Regions from separate parts of the Homo sapiens genome. Here region 2 is linked to region 1. Evidence: promoter capture Hi-C in 16 types of primary human blood cells and fetal thymus (Javierre and others, 2016). All regions are on one chromosome and are shown on one strand. Each heading gives the region's core, a stretch centred on a gene start or on the middle of the fragment in contact. The rest is flanking DNA. Distances are from core to core; before and after follow the strand shown. Region 1 holds the start of REX1BD (required for excision 1-B domain containing). Region 2 has its middle 3.2 kb from the start of COMP.

What was found. The method cuts DNA at HindIII sites, captures the fragments that hold promoters and counts their contacts. A CHiCAGO score of 5 or more calls a contact.
Region 2: a contact is called between a fragment that was not itself captured here and the fragment with the promoter of REX1BD in region 1, in 1 of 17 cell types (M0 macrophages). The highest score is 5.1, in M0 macrophages.

What each region holds. Positions count from the first base shown.
Region 1 is chr19:18,587,298-18,590,902 of GRCh38, forward strand. REX1BD (required for excision 1-B domain containing) reads left to right here and starts at 1,501. Exons shown (of 5, transcript NM_001100418.2): 1 at 1,501-1,603; 2 at 1,698-1,780; 3 at 2,116-2,386; 4 at 3,557-3,605. The coding sequence starts at 1,505. RefSeq lists a silencer at 1,329-1,848. The HindIII fragment of the contact is 10,738 bases long and covers 740-3,605 here.
Region 2 is chr19:18,792,444-18,796,538 of GRCh38, forward strand. No RefSeq gene overlaps it. Among named protein-coding and RNA genes, the nearest start is that of COMP, 3.2 kb to the left of the region's middle. RefSeq lists an enhancer at 2,737-3,266. The HindIII fragment of the contact is 4,570 bases long and covers 526-4,095 here.

The sequences.
Region 1 (3,605 bases), core at 251-2,750:
CTCCAGGCCGGGCGCGGTGGCTCACGCCTGTAATCCCAGCACTTTGGGAGGCCGAGGCGGGCGGATCACGAGGTCAGGAGATTGAGACCATCCTGGCTAACCCGGTGAAACCCTGCCTCTACTAAAAATACAAAAAATTGGCCGGGTGTGGTGGCGGGCGCCTGTGGTCCCAGCTACTGGGGAGGCTGAGGCAGGAGAATGGCGTGAACCCGGGAGGCAGAGCTTGAAGTGAGCCGAGATCGTGCCATTGCACTGCAGCCTGGGCGACAGAGCGAGACTCTGTCTCACTAAAAAAAAAAAAAAAAAAAAACAAAAAAAAAAAACACTCCAGAGGAGGATTGAAAAAAGAACCACTCTCAATGGACAAAAAGAAAGGGGAGGGGTAACATAGGGATATGAGCCCTAGCCACCGGAGCCAGCAACGGCAACCCTTCCGGGTCCCCTTCCAGCATGTGGAAGCTTTCCTTTCGCTTTGTTCAATAAACTGCCCTGCTGCTCACTCTCCTGGTCCGTGGACTCTTTTTGATCTGTAACACACACCGCGAAGGTCCACAGCTTCATTCTTCAAAGTTAGCGAGACCACGAACCCATCGGCAAGAAAAACTCCCAACTCACTAACAGCCTAGTCCCTTCCCCCTTAAAGGCTGGTGTCTGTCACCCCATACCTGAGCTGGTCCCTCTTCACTAAGTCAGGCTACCAGCATCTTCCTGCTCCTCCGGCTGGGCCCCTGGAGGAGGAAGCTTTCCAAAGCTCTGTCTAGCCCATGTATCCCTCCAGCAGGAAGCTCCAAGGCCTCCTCTGTACTTTGAGGTCGTTCTGGCCCCTGCTATGCTCCAGGCTCAGGGCTATTACACAAGACACCCAATTCAACTCGGTGGGCTGTTGACACCGTCCCTGTCACTGAATCTTGTCTTCACCCCTGTGATTCTCTGAAGAGCCAGTGAATCTCTGTTAATGTTGGTGGAGTTCCAGCCACTGCACTTTTTTTGAGGCAGACTCACTGTGGCTCCGGCTGGAGTGCAGTGGCATGGTCATAGCTCATGGCAGCCCCCAACTCCCGGGCTCATGTAATCCTCCCACCTCAGCCTCCCGAGTAGCTGGGACTGGAGGCGGGAGCCACCATGTCGGGCTAATTGGTTTTTCTGTAGAGATCGGGCCTCCCTAGGTTGCCCAGGCTTACTTAACACTCTTGAACGTCAAAACCCACGCTCAGTACCCGCTTCAAGTGGAAGTCGGTGTTGAGATACAAGCATAGGAACGAACTCAAGGCTAACAGCTGTTCTGTATTCAGAGCCGCACAATCAAGGAAAAACACGATCGGAGGCGGGCCCTGGACGGGAACAAGAAGGGTGGGCTTGACTGGGCGGCCCGCGGTCTTGGTTCCCCTTTCTTCCTTCTGGCTGGCCGGCCGCAGGGTAGGGGGTCCGTGGACCTCCCGGCCTGTAGGGGGCGTCGGGCGCAGCGGAAGGGCCTGCTCCGGAGCCTGGCCAGGGCTGCGCAGTCATGATCACCGAGACCGCGGCGGAGCCTACGGTCCCTGCAGTGCCTGCTGCTGAGGAGGCCACCGAAGCTCGGGGACGCGAGGAGCCGGCGTGGCCCTGGGTGAGCCCAGGCCCAAGCGGGAACGGGCGCGGGGCGGGCGGCGCAGACCCAGGGGCGCGGGCTTCATGCCCCAGCCGTGCCCCCTGTCCCGCAGAAAGACGCCCCGATCCGGACGCTGGTGCAGCGCATCCACCAGCTGCAGGCTGAGCGCGCGCAGGGCTTCCGCCGACTGGAGGAGTGAGTGGGGGCGCGGAGGGGCTCAGGGTTCGGTCCCCCGCCCGCTCCGGGCGTGGGCGTGTTCTCGGCGGGCGTGCCTGGAGGAGGAGCTGGGTCCTTGTGTGGCTGCAGAGTCAGATGGGGCGGGGATTTCGGGGCACCGGGTCCTCACCTTCACGAAAAAGGCCCCACAGCACGTCCCCACTACCCGACGACTCACTCTTCGTGGCTTCTCTCTCCTCCCCAAGAGCAGGGGTGGGCCTGTCTCGCGTTCCCCTGCGGGAGTCAGGAAGCGTCCTTCCTACCTACCAGTCCTCCCCTCTGGTGTCTGGGGACACTTCCTGGGGGCCTTTCAGGTGGTTGGCGCCGGTGCAGGGCCTGAGAGCCTGGGGGCGCGGCCTCAGGGTCCCCACATGCCGCAGAGGCCACCGCCAGTACCTGCGCAGCGGCCCTGACTACGACTTCGCGCGCTACCGGAGCACAGTGCACGGGGTGACCCAGGCCTTCGCCGCCGCCTCGCGGGAGGTGCTGGCGGTGGAAGCAGAGCTGGGCGGGCCTCGCAGGCAGCCGCTGCTCGCCGGCCACGTGCGCAGCCTGCAGGAGCTGGAGCAGACGCGGCTGGGCACGGTGAGGCCACCACCCCTTCCCCGCCGTGTCTCTAGGACCCTGGCCGGCTCCTCTCATGACGCACCCCTGGTTGGGGGGTGGTCCCAGTATCCCATACACAGACCTCACCCCTTCCTGTCCCACCCCAATCCTCTATTAAGGCTTCACTTGGGGATTCTCGGACCTTGCCCTCTGCTGTTCATCCCCAATTTTTTTCCCAAGTTTTGTCCTTATTCCCAGAGCACTCCCGCTTTCTCCCAGCTCCGCCTAAATGCTATTCCAAGATGCCCAGATCCCGCCCCAACAATGCTCCACCCACTCTGGTTGTTCCGCGTCTAGGGTCCCACCCTCAACCTCCCGTAGATACAGGCGAGGGGGGTCCCAGGCCACGCCTCCTCCGTATTATTCCTCCATCACAGCTTTAGTTCTTTGCCTATTTCTCTCTTGCGATCCGCCTGCTCGGCCCTGCAACCGTGTGTGACTGGAATTCCTAGGCCACGCCCCCCATGAGCGACCCGTCTCAGCGTCTCTTTGGCCTTTTTCTTTCTGGTGTTTTTTTTTTTTTTTTTTTTTTTTAAGACAGGCTCTTGCTCTCTTGCTCTCTCACCCAGGCTAGAGTGCAATGGCGCGATCTCGGCTAACGGCAACCTCCGCCTCCCAGATTCAAGCGATTCTCCTGCCTCAGCCTCCTGAGTAGCTGGGATTACAGGCATAATTTTTGTATTTTGTATTTTTTTTAGTAGAGACGGGGTTGTGCCATATGGGCAAGGCTGGTCTCGAACTCCTGGTCTCAAGCGATCCGCCCTCTTCTGCTTCCCGAAGTGCTGGGATTTCAGGCGTGAGCCACCGCGTCCAGGCTTTTTGGCCTACTTTTATCCTGGGTCCCCGTCCCTGGGACCATGAGGCGCAACCTAACCCACCCCTACGGCCAATGCCTGGCTAAGACGTCACTGTTGTTCCCAGGCCACGCCCACATCGCGCTCAGCACTGCCTCTGGCCTGCCTGCTGTCTCCTTTCTGAGAGAGCCTCTAAACTGAATTTCGGACTCTTCCTACACAAAGCACTGCCCCTCGTGGTTCTACCCGGGCACTGCCTTTCTGGGTGCCTCTGTTTTTTCCTGAACATCCTTGGAGGGCAGGGGGTGGGTTCTGCTCGTGGAGACATCCTTCGTGTTGCTCATTCCCCCACCAGGTGGCCCTGCTGCAGTTGATGGAGACGCCAGAGCTGGCGGGGCAGGAGG
Region 2 (4,095 bases), core at 1,561-4,060, 210 kb after region 1:
CTGTCCAAGGGGACAGGCCCACTTGGTTTTCCAATCTGCGCAATGGGGTGTGAGGCCCCCATCTGGAGGGGAGCAAGTTAAAGGGCTCTAGCAAGGGGAGGTCCGGGGCTTCTGTTTGTCCAGGCTGTGCCATACCTTCCAAACTGTGCTCCAGCTGCTGTGGGAACAGCCTGTAATAAAAATAAAAGTTACCGCTAACTGGCCAGCCACACTCTGGAGTTACAAAACCCCTTAACCTCCTGCAATCAGTTAACACTCTCCACTCCCACCTTCCAGTACTCACAGCGTCTATTCTATAGACAGAGAAACTGAGGCCCAGAGAGAAAAAGTGACTGGCCTAAGGCCACTGCCCGAGGGCAGGGGTGAATCTAGACTCAGAGCCAGATATGTTTTCTGGGGAGCCTACAGAGAAGTCACCGAGGGCTTCCTGGAGGAGGTAGCAAGGAGACAGACATAAAAGAAAAGGAGGACTTGGATCAGCAGAGGGAAAAGGTGAGGGCAGTTTTGGTGGAGGGAAGCATGTGAAGCTTGGAGGTGGGGACATTTCTAGACACAATAATTATTTCACAAACATCAAGGACTGTTGTGTGTCATGTCTCCTGTGCTGGGTGATGGGCACACAGGGTGAAGAAGCCAGACCCAGTCTCTCCTTCAAATGGGGAGCCCAGTGGGCTCATGGCTGTGACGGGACACACAGACAATGGTAGGAGTCCCCAGGAAATTGATCTGTTTGAAAGGGGATGGGTCAGGGCGGGCTTCTGGAGGAGGAGGGACCACCAAGCTGAGGACCGGATGATGAGGAGGACACAGCCAGGCAGAGGTAGCAGAAAGTCATTCCAGGTAGAGGAAACAGCATAGGCAAAGGCCCTGAGGCAGGAACCAACCTGGCCCGTTGGATGGACTGACCTCAAGGTGACAAGCTCTTGGGGCTCAGTGAGAAGCAGGAGATGAGGCTGTGTGTGAAAGGGCAGTGCTGGTGGTGTGGGGCTCCAGTGGTCTCCCGAGGGTAATGGGGAGCCACAGAGAGTGCGTGAAGAGAGACAGGCCTATAAGTGGAGTGTTGGTGGAAGCAGCTGGTCCCAGCCAGAGCATTTCCAATGAAGCCTGTCCTCAATAGTGCCTGCCCTGCCTGCTGCCTACATTGGGGCCATGAGCTCACCTCCTGTTTTCCTTGGCCTTCAGCACACCTGGGGGCCGCTCCTGGCAGCACTGGAATTCTCGGGAAAACCACAGCTCCAGTGGGGCCTGGGGGCTGGCATATGCTGCACACAGCTAGGACAGGAGCACATGGAAGCCAGGCCCCTGCCACAGGCTGGTCACAGTGCTGGGGCTTGGACACACGTGGCCTTATCCATGGCTGGGCCACGGGGAGTTGCAGGGAAGGGCATTCCAGGCGGAGGGAACTACAAAGGTGGAGTTCCTGAGGGTGTCCCAAGATCGGACAACAGAGGCCCGGAAAGGGGATGTCTGGGGTCACACTCCTGCCTCCTGGATCTCGCCAGCCCTGAAATCCCCCTTCTAGGCAGCAGTCCCCTCCTCCTGTGCACACCACACTTGCCTCAGATTACAGAATAACTCACTGTAGGTGTCATTCTGGGCCTTTGTACCTGCTGTTCCCCCCACCTCGTACAAACTCCTCCATCCTTCAAGGTCCAGCTATAATGTCCCCTCCTCCAGGAAGCCTTCCCTGCTGATATTCTCCAGATAACCTTCCAGCCTAGCCATGATCCTCGGGACTGTGAGTGTCTGTGGTTTGCTCTGTCCCTCCGAGCCTGAGGGGCTCCCACCCAGGGGCCTGGACTGGTGTAGAAAGGTTAGGCTGGAGGGCTTGGTGAGCCGGGACAGCATCCCTATGATTCGTGTTCATTACTATTTTTTTTTTTTTTTTTTGAGATGGAGTCTCACTTTTGTCGCCCAGCTGGAGTGCGATGGTGCAATCTCGGCTCACTGCAACCTCTGCCTCCTGAGTTCAAGTGATTCCCCTGCTTCAGCCTCCTGAGTAGCTGGGATTACTGGCACCTGCCACCACGCCCAGCTAATTTTTTTATATTTTTAGTAGAGACGGGGTTTCACCATGTTGGCCAGGTTGGTCTCGAACTTCTGACCTCAGGTGATCCACCTGCCTCAGCCTCCCAAAGTGCTGGGATTACAGGCGTGAGCCACCGCGCCTGGCCATTACTACTTTTTATAATTAATGTAATGTCATTACTATTTTTTTTTTTTTTTAAAATAGAGATGGGGGTCTTATTATGTTGCCCAGGCTAGTCTCGAACTCCTGGGCTCAACAGATCCTCCTTCCTCGGCCTCTCAAAACCCTGGGATTTCAGCCACTGCACCCAGCCAACATTATCATATGAATCCTAGTAACCCCTGCCACCTCTGTACTTGATATGGCAGGGAAGGGGGCCACACAGCCTGGGTTCAAATATTGGTGAGCATGGCCTTACTGTGTGACCTAGGACAAGTCACTTAACCTCTCTGTGCTTCAGTTTTCTCACCCATAAAATGAGGATGATCACTGTTGAGAGGATTGAATGAGCTGACCCATGGAAATCCTTCAGCCCAGCGCCCAGCTCCAGCGCTACTAGCGTGCTTATTCCATATGAAATTTATACACCGTGGGCCAGTGTGGTGGCTCACACCTATAATCCCAGCACTTTGGGAGGCCACAGCAGGTGGATCACCTGAGGCCAGGAGTTCGAGACCAGTGTGGCCAACGTGAAACTCCATCTCTACTCAAAATACAAAAATTAGCTGGACGTGGTGGCGCGTGCCTGTAATCCCAGCTAATCGGGAGGCTGAGGCAGGAGAATCACTTGAACCGGGGAGGCAGAGGTTGCAGTGAGCCGAGATCACATCACTGCACTCCAGCCTGGGCGACCGAGTGAGACCTTGTCTCAAAAAAACAAAACAAAACAAAAAAACTTATACCCTGTGCCTGTCGCTTATACCTCAGATCGTTCTTATTTCTATCTTACTCAGAGAGGAGAAGAGACAGTCTGAGGTCACACAGCCAGAATTAGAACTGAGGCATGCAAGACCCTCAAGCCCTTCATACCCGCCCTCTCTGTCCTTGCCACAGAAACAGAATCCAGCATTTCGCTGGCCCGAGCCCCTCATTAACTGGGATGTCTTCTCGGCCCAGGACCTCCTGGCCAGAGCATCTGGCCGGCGCCCCAGCCAGCCCCACACCAGGCCCCGTGGTTCCAGGAGCCCGGCCAGGCTGGGGAAGAGGGACGGGTGCCTGCATGATGGGGCCCCGGGGCCCTTCCTGGCAGACGTCTGCTCAGCCAGGAGACGTGTGGGCGCCCCGGCTCCCTGCCTCCCGCCCCCACCGTTGCCTGCCTTTGTGAATGCAGAAGGAAAGTATGTTGTGAAGGCAGCCGCCCTGCCCTGGGCGGGCCGGGCTGTAGGCCCCCAGTCTGCGGAATTCATCAGGGCGGCAGGGGAGGGCAGCTTGGCGACCTCTGCATCCTCAGCCTGCCTTGAACTGGGAGAGACGTACTGGAGGCATCTCTCTAGAAGGAACAAAAGGCAGGGGTGGGATGGGGGGCTCTGAGCTTTGAAGTCCAGGAGACGCCCCCCGACTGGCCGTGTGACCTTTGGCAGGTGCCACCTCCTCTCCCAGTCTCCTTTTTTTTTTTTTTTTTTTTGAAACAGGGTCTTGCTCTGTTGCCTGGCCTGAAGTACAGTGACAATCATAGCTCACTCATTGCAGCCTCCAACTTCTGGGCTCAAGTGATCCTCCCACCTCAGCCTCCCAAAGTGCTGGGATCACAGATGTGCACCACTGCACCCAGCCCCATTCTCCTTTTACTCAGTCCCTACCCCCATTGCATCCCAGGCTCTACTGGATGGCGATAAAGGAAGAAGACAACAATAAATACAGTGGCTACAGTTTTCTTGAGCAAGTGCCAAATGCTTGAAACCTTACCACTCAGCCTTTGTGGGTTTTCTCTTTCTGTCATCCCTTAAGTCCCAGAAGGCAGGAATTTGTCATCATGGGAGACAGTGGGGCACAGTGATGAAGGTCTCAGTCTCTGGCATCAGAGCCTGAGTTTCATATCCCAGCTCTGCTGTGGTACATGAGGCAAG